Regions from separate parts of the Homo sapiens genome. Here region 2 is linked to region 1. The links are contacts of gene promoters, found by promoter capture Hi-C in blood cells and fetal thymus (Javierre and others, 2016). All regions are on one chromosome and are shown on one strand. The core of a region is centred on a gene start or on the middle of the fragment in contact, and the rest is flanking DNA. Distances in the headings are between cores, read along the strand shown.

Region 1 (5,205 bases), core at 138-2,637:
CCCTGGCTCCCCCCTCTGCCAGGCCCACTCAGTGTGACCTAAATCCTTGCCGAGGCTTGGCAGCCCTCTGCGGGCGCCCGGATGGCCTCTGGCCTTGGTGACGGTGAGGCCCAGCTCCCCTCAGTTCCCAGCCTTCCCGGAACCCCTTGCCTAACATCCTGTGTGGTAATCATGCCTGTTGGCCCCATTCAGTCCTGCCGGCCACTGCCAAGTTGCCACTGCTAGTTCCAGACGCTCCCACCTCTAATGGAACCATCGGGAAATAAAAAGCTGCAGCACAGTTTCTCTCTCAGGTCAGAATCTCCTCCCAGCACTTTGGGAGGCCAACGTGGGAGAATCACTTGGGCCCAGGAGTTCGAGACCAGCCTGGGCAACAAAGTGAGACCCCGTCTCTACAAAAAGTTGAAAAATTAGTCAGGAGTGGTGGCGAACATCTGTGATCCCAGTTACTTGGGAGGCTGAGGCGGGAGGATCACTTGAGCCTGGGAGGCGGAGGCTGCAGTGAGCTGTGATAGCGCCACTGCACTCCAGCATGGGTGACAGAGCGAGACCCTGTCTCAAAAAAAAAAAAAAAAAAAAAAAAGAAAAAAAGAAAAGAAAAGAAAGAAAAAAGAAAAAGTGGGGAGCAGGTTGGGGAGCATGGTGAGGGCCACCTACTGCCTGATAATGGTGGGGGACAGGAAGGGGACTGAGTGCTCTGAGAGGCAGCTGATCCCGTTTTCTCACTTAAATACCTCTCACCCTACAGAGAAGCCCTGATTCCATTTGCTGTCTTTCTTAGCAATGTCTTAGCAAAAGTCTTCTATTTGCCACACGGGTCCAAGCTTCCGCTTACTAAGCACCCAAGTGCCAGACAACCCCGGAGGCAGGTACTCCCATTGTCCCCACTGTACAGATGAAGAAACTGAACTCAGGGTCACACAAGTGATAAGGGGTGGCAGAGATCTGAAGCTGTGCGCGGAGGCGTGGCCAGCGTGTGCGCTCCGACTTCTAAATCCCTACTCTGGATATTGAAGACGGGAAAGACCGAGCCGCTCATTCTACAGATGGGGAAAAGCGAGGCCTGAGGAGTCCCAGAGCGGGTGCCAGATCGTAGGGAGCAGCCAGCACCCCGGGTCCCCTCCACGACACAACCACGTCCCTCGGCCACTTCTGGGTCCCGCGCGCGTCTCGGACGCGGCAGGACAGCTCTAGGACGCACGGCCACCAGGGGGCCGAAGGGAAGGGCGGGGGCGGAGGCTCGGAGCTGACCCACCGCCTCGCCCCGGAAGCTCCGAGGCCCCGCCCCGGCGGCCGCCAGCGGAGGGCGTGGCCTCGCCGGCGCCCCCGCCCCGCCCCCGCCCCCGCCGCGCGCGCCCCCGCCGCGCGCGCCCCCGGCCCGGGCCCCAGTCTTGCTGAGCGCAAGGCGGTGGAGGCCTGAGGCCTGAGGCCTGGGGCGGGGTGGCGGCCGGGCTGGCCTTGGCCTCGCGCCTTCCCCTGCGGCCGCCGCGGGCTCCGCGGGCGGTATCGGAGTGTCGTGCGGCGCGTGGCCGCGTGACACGCGCACTTGTCGGAGTGACGGGCCCTGCGGAAGAGGAGGTGCGGCCCAGGGCGCAGGGGAGCCCTCGGGAGCGGGCCCGGCCCTCAGCGCCGCCCCGGCCGTGTCCCGGAGGAGCGGCCTGCGCCGCCGCGCGAGAGGAAGTAAGCGCCCCCCGCCGGCCCCGCCGCCGCCCCGGCCCCGGCGCCTCCAACCCGCGCTGCCGCCGGGCCCGAGGCCGCGCCGAGCCCCGGAGCCTGCGCTGCCAGCCCCACGGAGCCTGGGGCTGGCGGCTTTGGAACTGCTCAGGAGGCGGCCAGGCTCCCTCCAGGGTCGCCCCGAGCGGCCGAGCTGTCCTTTCCCTGGGCTTCCCGGAACTGAGTTCCAGGAGAGGGGGAACTCCGAGATTTCCCCCGGGACCTGCTTAATCTTTGGCATTGATTGGCCCTCGGGTTTCACATAGCGTTTCCCGTACCCGGATCTAGTGAACGGTTTTCCAGGGGCAAACCTCTCTGGATCTCTGAAAATCAGCTCACCCAACCTTGAATGCTTAGCCAGAAGTGAGAACTTCTGGAAAGAAGTGTCCTTGCCCACTCCCCCTGCACCCACAACAGGCCCATGGCTCATGAAAGGCAGCAGATGAGGGAAAACTGGTGTCAAATGGGCATATTTTTTATTTTATCTTTTTACTTTTTTATATAAAAGTAAAAAATCTTTTACTTATAAAAGATGGGGTCTTGCTTGGTTGCCCAGGCTGGAGTACAGTGGCACAAACACGGTTCCCTGCAGCCTCCACCTCTTGGGCTCAGGCCATCGTCCTGCCTCAGCCTCCGGGGTAGCTGGGACCACAGGCGCACACCACCACGCCTGGCTAATTTTTAAACCTTTTGTAGAGACAGTGGTCTCACTATGTTGCCCTGGCTGGTCTCGAACTCCTGGGCTCAAGCGATCCTCCTGCTTAAGCCTTACGAAGTGTTGGGATTACAGGTGTGAAGCACCACGCCCAGACAGCGTATTTTAAATTATGCATCATATCCCTTTAATTTTTCATCATTATGATTGGAAGATCATGAAAAGCTGTCTGAGTTTTTCCTTGGCATTTTTCTGTGGTTGATGGTTAGTTGTTGCCCAAGCTGGAGTGCAATGGCGCGATCTCGGCCCACTGCAACCTTCTCCTCCTGGTTCAAGCGATTCTTCCACCTCAGCCTCCTGAGTGGCTGGGATTACAGGCGCGTGCCACCACACCCGGCTAATTTTATGTATTTTTTAGTAGAAACAGGGTTTCACTATGTTATCCAGGCTTGTCTTGAACTGCTGACCTCAGGTGATCCACCACCTCGGCCTCCCAAAGTGCTGGGATTACAGGCATGAACCACCGCGCCCAGCTGGTTAGTTGGTTTTAACAGCAGTTCAAGAAGCTAGCAAGAAGGACTTCATTCGTGAAGCTAATGGTTTAATGATAGAAACTAACATTTCTGGCCGGGCCCAGTGGCTCACGCCTGTAATCCCAACACTTTCGGAGGCCAGGGCGGGCAGGTCACTTGAAGAGTTCAAGACCAGCCTTGCCAACATGGTGAAACCCCGTCTCTACTAAAAATACAAAAATTTGCTGGGCATGGGGGCAGCGGATGCCTGTAATCCCAGCTGCTGGGGAGGCTAAGGCAGGAAAATCGCTTGAACCGCCCTGCCTCCGGTGACGGAGGTTGCAGTGAACCAAGATCGTGCCACTGCACTCCAGCCTGGGTGACAAAGCTAGACTTCTCCTTAAAAAAAAAAAAAAAAAAAAGCAGCTAGGATTTCTTGGGTGCTTACTGTATGCCAGGCATTGTGCTAAGTACCTTACATGCTTCCCATCGATTTGTTTTCCCATTCTGTGGTTGAGGTACAGAGAGGTTAAATAACTTGTCTGAGGGTACATAGTTACTGAGTGGCAGGGATTTGAATCCAGAATATTCTTATGTAACCAGTTCTCCAAAAACTAGCCCTTGAAGGTCTTCCACGTTTCAACAAAGCAACTGAGGCTTATACATGATGTCTTCATGATGTCAGAAGGAAGAACTGTGAAAGGCAAAGCGGACCCGGGAGGCAGAGGCTGGTTACCGCAGTTAGTGTTCGGAACAGCTTGACTTCATGGAGCAGAGAAACAGCCTGTCTGGTTTAAACCACTGTTCAGTATCTACACTGATACAGTGTAAATGTAATACAGTGTTTTACATTTTGCCATTCAGGGATGTAGTCACATTTTACGGGAAGGTTAGCTCTGGGACCAGACTGCCTGTATTCAAATCCTATCACCTCTAGCTGCTTGACCTTTGGTAAGTTATTTGACTTCTCTTTTTTTTTTTTTTTTTTTTTTTTTTGAGATGGAGTCTTGCTCTGTTGCCCAGGGGCGCAATCTCAGCTCACTGCAACGTTCGCCTCCTAGGTTCAAGTGATTCTGCTCCCTCAGCCTCCCAAGTAGCTGGGATTACAGGCACCTGCCACCACGCCTGGCTAATTTTTGTATTGTTAGTAGAGACGGGGTTTCACCGTGTTGGCCAGGCTGGTTTTAAACTCCCGACCTCCAATGATCCTCCTGCCTCAGCCTCCCAAAGTGCTGGGATTATAGGCGTAAGCCACTGCGCCTGGCCATGTTATTTGACTTCTCTTTGCCTTAGTTTCCTCTCTACTCCCTGCTAAGATGGGGATAATCATGTTACCTACCTCATATGGTTGTGGCAAGATTTAAATGGTGTGATGCATGTCACACCGATAGCCTAGCATTTGGCATATAGTTAAATACTCCATAAATAGCTCTTTTATTATTAAAAGTGTTGTTCCAAGTAGTAAGCTGCTGCTGTGTGCTGTGTCACAGTGCTTGAAGTCACCATTAGAGGTATATTCCTTTGTGCCGTATTTCAAATGCAGAAATGACAGTGGTCCTGTGCAAATGGGATTTATTTGTTCATTTAGCAGATATTTATAGAGCGCCTTCTGTATGCCAGGCCTTGTTTTGGATACTGGAGGTACTGCGGAGAACAAAACAAACAAAAGTCCCTGTCCTCATTGGCACGCACACTCTTGGGAAAAGGAATGGCAGACAATAGGCAAAATGAATGTAATTATCATACAGTATATTAGAAAGCGATGTACTGTGGGGAGAAATAAAGCAGGAGAGGAGGATGGGGGTGGGCGGTTTACAATTTTAGAGTGGTCTGAGTAAGCCTCACTGAGAAGATGACATTTTAGCAAAGAAAAATTAGTGAGGGAGTAAACCACGTGGACCTGGTGGGGGACATGGGGGAGTTGGCCAGGCGGAGAGAACAAGTGCAAAGGCCCTGAGGCAGGAGGCTGGGCGGCCAGAGCCTAGACAGGCAGGATGGTAAGAGAAGAGATCAAAGAGGTAATGGGTGGGAGGCCAGAATGTGTAGACTCTGCAGACATCTGCACAGAGGAATGGCATGATCCAGCTGGAGCTATAAAAAGGTCACTCTGACTGCCGTGTTGAGGCTCAGCCATAGAGGGTCCAGGTAGACAGAGGAGGCCAATTAGGAAGTTCCTGTAGTAATCCAGACGGAGATGACGGTGGCTGGCACTGGAGTGGAGTGGTGGAAGGTGGTGAGAAGCAGTTGTATTCTAGATAAATTTTGAAGATAGAAACTACAGGATTTGCTGACAGATACGATGACCTCAAGGTTTCTGGGTCTGAA
Region 2 (5,155 bases), core at 265-2,764, 250 kb after region 1:
TCACCATGTTGGCCAGGCTGCTCTTGAACTCCTGACCTCAGGTGATCCACCCGCCTTGGCCTCCCAAAATGGTAGGATTACAGGTGTGAGCCACCACATTCAGCTCCAGCCCTTAAAATTCTAATAACCTAGTCTCTCCTAAGACTTAGCCTAAAAGAACGAACAAGCCTCCCTTTCCACACTGTCCTGGGGGAAACCACCACTGGCTGAGTGCCAGCAGGTGCTGGCCTCTCTCCTGGGCTCAGCAGGGCAGGTCCTGGCTGGCCCAAAGCTTCGTCCTCTGGAAGCCTCCTTCACCATCCTGTCGTACAAGCACCTGCTCTTCCCTCCCTGCCACACGCTCGCTTTGGGCTCACTTGGCCAACCTCCAAGTTCCCAGCCAGACCCAGCAGCCGTGCTGGTCAACCCTGGAAACATGGACTCTGCTTTGAAATTCCTTTGGAAATTATGGTCAAAGTTTCCTTCACAGGGACTCATTTTTCCAGGAACATTTTCTACCAATTTGGGGAAGGTGGGGTGTCTCATTCGTTCATTCATTTACCCAGAGCCTACACTGAGCCAGGTGCTCTGCAAGGTAATGGACGGGGCACAGATATTTCAGGCAGTGCCCACCCTGGACCCTATAACAAAACGGCCAGGTGCTAGAAGAGCAAATTCATAAAGTGCTCTGGGAACAGAGAGAAGGAGAGAGCCAGGGTCCCTCTGAGGACCTCCCTCTGTTTATTTATGTCACAAAAACGCGTAGGAACATTCTGTGCCACCATTGTTTTGCAGTGTGCAAATCTGTGCAAACCTGCCCCCAAAGTCCAAGGGAGCTGAGAGGTGGAACAAAGAGGCTGATATATCATTTCTCAGAAAGGAACTTTTTTTCTCTGTCTTCGAGACAGAGTCTCGCTGTCACCCATGCTGGAGTGCAGTGGCGCGATCTTAACTCACTGCAACTTCCCCCTCCCGAGTTCAAGTGATTCTCTTGCCTCAGCCTTCCAAGTAGCTGGGATTACAGGCACCTGCCACCACACCTGGCTAATTTTTGTATATTTAATAGAGATGGGGTCTCACCATGTTGGCCAAGCTGGTCCCAAACTCCTGACCTCAAATGATCTACCTGCCTCGGCTTTCCAAAGTGCTGGGATTACAGGCATGAGCCACCGTACCCAGCTTCGGAAGGGAAATTTAATAGGGACTTAGGAACAGAAGCCATCATTTCAGGCGGCTGCAAGGCAAGATGATGGATCCCTACGCCATTCCCTCCCAGACCCAGGGCTTATACACCAATAGGGAAGCAATATATAAGACAATTGTAGAGAAAGGTAAGCATGCCAAGTGAATCTGCCTAAGGGCAGGGCTTATGGTCTAGGTTGTTCTGGGACTGGGTGTGGTGGCCCATACCTGTAATCCCAGCACTTTGGGAGGCTGAGGTGGGAAGATCATTTGAGACTAGGAGTTCAAGACCAGCCTGGGCAATATAGTGAGACCCTGTCTCTATTTATATTTTTTTAATATATTTTTTCAAAAGGTTATTTTGACCTAAAGGCAGGATTTACCGAAAGTACATGTTCTTACGCAAGAGCAGTAGACAAAATAAAAATCTCAGAGGCGTTCCTGGAACTGGTGATAATCAGAAGTCAACACAGCGGGTTAGTGTCCTAGACAGGTCTGCTTCGGCCTGCACACAGGCATTGTTCTAAGTATGTTCCAGATGCTAAGTCGCTTAATTCTCATAAAGGCTTTACGAGGCAGGCACTAGTATTACCACATTTTATAGATACAAGGGCACAGAGAGGTTAAGCAGCCTGCCCGGGTCACACTGCTGCTAAGTGGCAGAGCGACATTTGTACCCCAGCACTCAGGCTCCAGGCCCTGCTGTTAGCCACCGACAAGGCTGCCTCTGCTGATGGAGGGGCTCTCCAGCTGAGCAAGGGTGGCCAAGCCTGAGCCAGCTGCTGGGACACTCGGGAAGTGACACAGGCATATCTTCACACCAAGGAGCACACTGGGAGCACCCTGCTCAGCCAAGCAACCCTGAAGTCAGAGGCCGGCCGAGCCAAGGGGCTCCAAAGGGAGCTATGAACTCCCGGGCTGGACCGCTCTGTCTTTGTTCACAGCCTTCAAGGGAGAGCTCCAAGGACCATGTGAGTCCCTGCAGGGGAGCCATGGGAGGTGGCCTCCCCTCCCCAGAAAACAAGGTTTGGTGCCTGCCCTTGAGTGAACAGTTCGTCCCTGAAGGAAAAACAAAACAATAACATTCAGCTCTGGGTAAAAGATGTTCCCACTGCTACTCCACCAGGGAGAGAGAGTGCACTCATGAGAAGGGCTCGCTTTTGTAGGAGCAGGTACATCTTTTTCCTGGCCTGGAGCCCGTTACAACCACGTCATAAACGCCATGCCAGAGAGGGTGCCCTGCACTGGCCCCACACGGCCCACGTCACCTCTCCCAGAGGGCTGGAGAGCGAGCAGCGACATGGGAGGCTCCGGCAGGTCCTGGCCTTAAGGGTCACCGGCTCCCTGTGACAGCTGACTCCACTCCTGGGAAGAGGAACAGGAGAAATCCTAGAACCAGGAGCCGATCCCATCCACGTGGTCTCTGCCCTCAGAAAGAGGCAATGCTGGAGAGAGGCATCCCCCTCCAGGATGGAAACCACAAGAGCCCCAATTTCTGTCTGTCCTGTTTGCCACTGGGTGTCTAAAATACCACTGGGTGTCTAAAATACCATGTCACAAAGCCTCCACAATTTTTCTCTAAAGGATTCGATGTGAGAAGCTTAGGCTTTGCAGTTCACCAGTCTCAGTGCAAATCCTCCACTCTGCCATTGGAGAGCACACACTGCCTATAGCTTCTGAACAGATGAAGCCTTGTCCCAATCAAACCTTATATATGGACACTGAAATTGGATTTTCTTTTTTCTTTTCTTTGAGACAGAGTCTCACTCTGTCATCCAGGCTAGAGAGCAGTGGCATGATCTCAGCTCACTGCGATCTCCGCCTCCCAGATTCAAACAATTCTCTTTCTCCTGCCTCAGCCCCCTGCGTAGCTGGAATTACAAGCACCCACCACCATGTCCAGCTAATTTTTGTATCTTTAGTGGAGACGAGTTTTCACCATGTTGGCCAGGCTGGTCTCGAACTCCTGACCTCAAGTGATCTGCCCACCTTGGCATTCCAAAATGCTGGGATTACAGGTGTAAGCCACCAAACCTGGCCTGAAATTTGATTTTCATATCATTGTCAGATGTCATGAACTACTACTCCTCTTTTTTTTTTTTTTTTTTTTTTGAGATGGAGTCTTGCTCTGTTGCCCAAGCTGTAGTGGTGTGATCTCGCCTCATTACAACCTCCGCCTCCTGGGTTCAAGCGATTCTCCTGCCTCAGCCTCCCGAGTAGCTGGGATTACAGGCATGTGCCACCACACCCAGCTAATTTTTGTATTTTTAGTAGAGATGGGGTTTTGCCATGTTGGCCAGGCTGGTATCAAACTCCTGACCTCAGGTGATCTGTCTGCCATGGCGTCCCAAAGTGCTGGGATTACAGGCAGGAGCCACTGCGCCCAGCCATGAACTATTGTTCTTCTTTTGATTTATTTTCCCAACCATTAAGAAAAGTATAAATTTGGCCGAGCGCAGTGGCTTAACCTGTAATCCCAGCACTTTGGGAGGCTGAGGCTAGAGGGTTGCTTGAGCTCAAGAATTCAAGACCAGCCTGGCCAACATGGCAAAACCCCATCTCTACTAAAAATACAAAAATTTAGCCCAGCATGGTGGTGTGCGCCTATAGTCCCAGCTACTCAGGAGGCTGAGGCAGGAGGATCACTGGAGCCCAAGAAGCAGAGGTTGCAGTGAATCAAGATCGCGCCACTGCACTCCAGCCTGGCAACAGAGTGAGACCCTGTCTCAAAAAAAAAGTAAAAATCGTCCTTTGCTTGCAAGTTGTACAAAAACAGGCAGCAGGAGGGATTTGGCCTGCAAGCTATAGTTTGCTGACCCCTAACCCCTGATTTTGTGGCCACAGCCCCATGGGATCAAACCCAAACAGAAGGCTCCCAGTGCTCTGCCAATCAGGGATCCCCTGCCCCTCTGCATGGACCCCCATCTAACAACTGCAATTCTCAGTTTGCGCCTCTCCTGTGGGCTCTCGGGATCACCTTGCCCCTCACTTTCCAGCACTCACTTGTTTTCTGAGACTCAGTTCCCGTGTCTCAGGCTCTGGGAGCCCTCTCTGGATACCCTGTAGGGTTCTGATGCACCTCTCTTTACTGCCCAAGCCCCAGCAACTAACCCCTCAATGAACTTGTTGCCAAGTCTGATGGTGGCGGTTTGTTACTCAGCCTCCTCCAATGGCCCGGAAGCTACTGGAGGGCCAGGCGTGGGGCCCTCCAGCTCCCTCTCCCAGTGCTTGGAACGTGGTAAATGCTCTGTAAGTGCTCGTTGGGATCCTCTGTCCATCCCACTCCCTTCTCCTCTTCCTCTTCCTCCTCCTCCAAGTCTCTCAGCCTCTAAGATTGGCTGGCGCAGAGCTCAAGGCCAGAGTCTTGTTTTCTCCACCCACCTTCACATCCTAAGTGAACTCTCCCCAACTCAGGGCTCTAACGCCATCTACGTGGTGACAACTCCCAGACATATATCTCCAGCCCCAACTTTTCCCATGAACCCCAGATGATCTGGAATGTTTTCAGCCACTCTTAAGGTTGGCTTCAACTACGAATGCTGAATAGATAAAGGAGGCCATTGGCCTGAAACTGGTACACATGAGGGCAAATCAGAAGTGTTGAGGCATCATGACCCCATGGGACAGAGGAATTAGAGAAGTCAAAGAAACTGTCCCAAAAGAAACCAGTCAAATGGGGCCGGGCGCAGTGGTTCACGCCTGTAATCCCAGCACATTGGGAGGCCAAGGCAGGTGGATCACCTGAGGTCAGGAGTTCAAAACCAGCCTAGCCAACATGGTGAAACCCCATCTCTACCAAAAATACAAAAATTAGCTGGGCATGGTGGCGGGCGCCTGTAATCCCAGCTACTCAGGAGGCTGAGGCAGGAGAATCACTTGAACCCAGGAGGCAGAGGTTGCAATGAGTTGAGATCGCACCACTGCACTCCAGCGTGGGCGACAGAGTGAGACTCCATCTCAGAAAAAAAAAAGGAAGAAGAGAAACCGCTCAAAT

What was found. The method cuts DNA at HindIII sites, captures the fragments that hold promoters and counts their contacts. A CHiCAGO score of 5 or more calls a contact.
Region 2: a contact is called between a fragment that was not itself captured here and the fragment with the promoter of H6PD in region 1, in 1 of 17 cell types (megakaryocytes). The highest score is 5.5, in megakaryocytes.

The regions. Positions count from the first base shown.
Region 1 is chr1:9,233,387-9,238,591 of GRCh38, forward strand. It overlaps H6PD (hexose-6-phosphate dehydrogenase/glucose 1-dehydrogenase), which reads left to right and starts at 1,388. Exons shown (of 5, transcript NM_004285.4): 1 at 1,388-1,680. RefSeq lists a silencer at 1,241-1,800. The HindIII fragment of the contact is 5,189 bases long and covers 823-5,205 here.
Region 2 is chr1:9,480,955-9,486,109 of GRCh38, forward strand. No RefSeq gene overlaps it. Among named protein-coding and RNA genes, the nearest start is that of LINC02606, 55 kb to the left of the region's middle. RefSeq lists a silencer at 1,882-2,082. The HindIII fragment of the contact is 2,490 bases long and covers 270-2,759 here.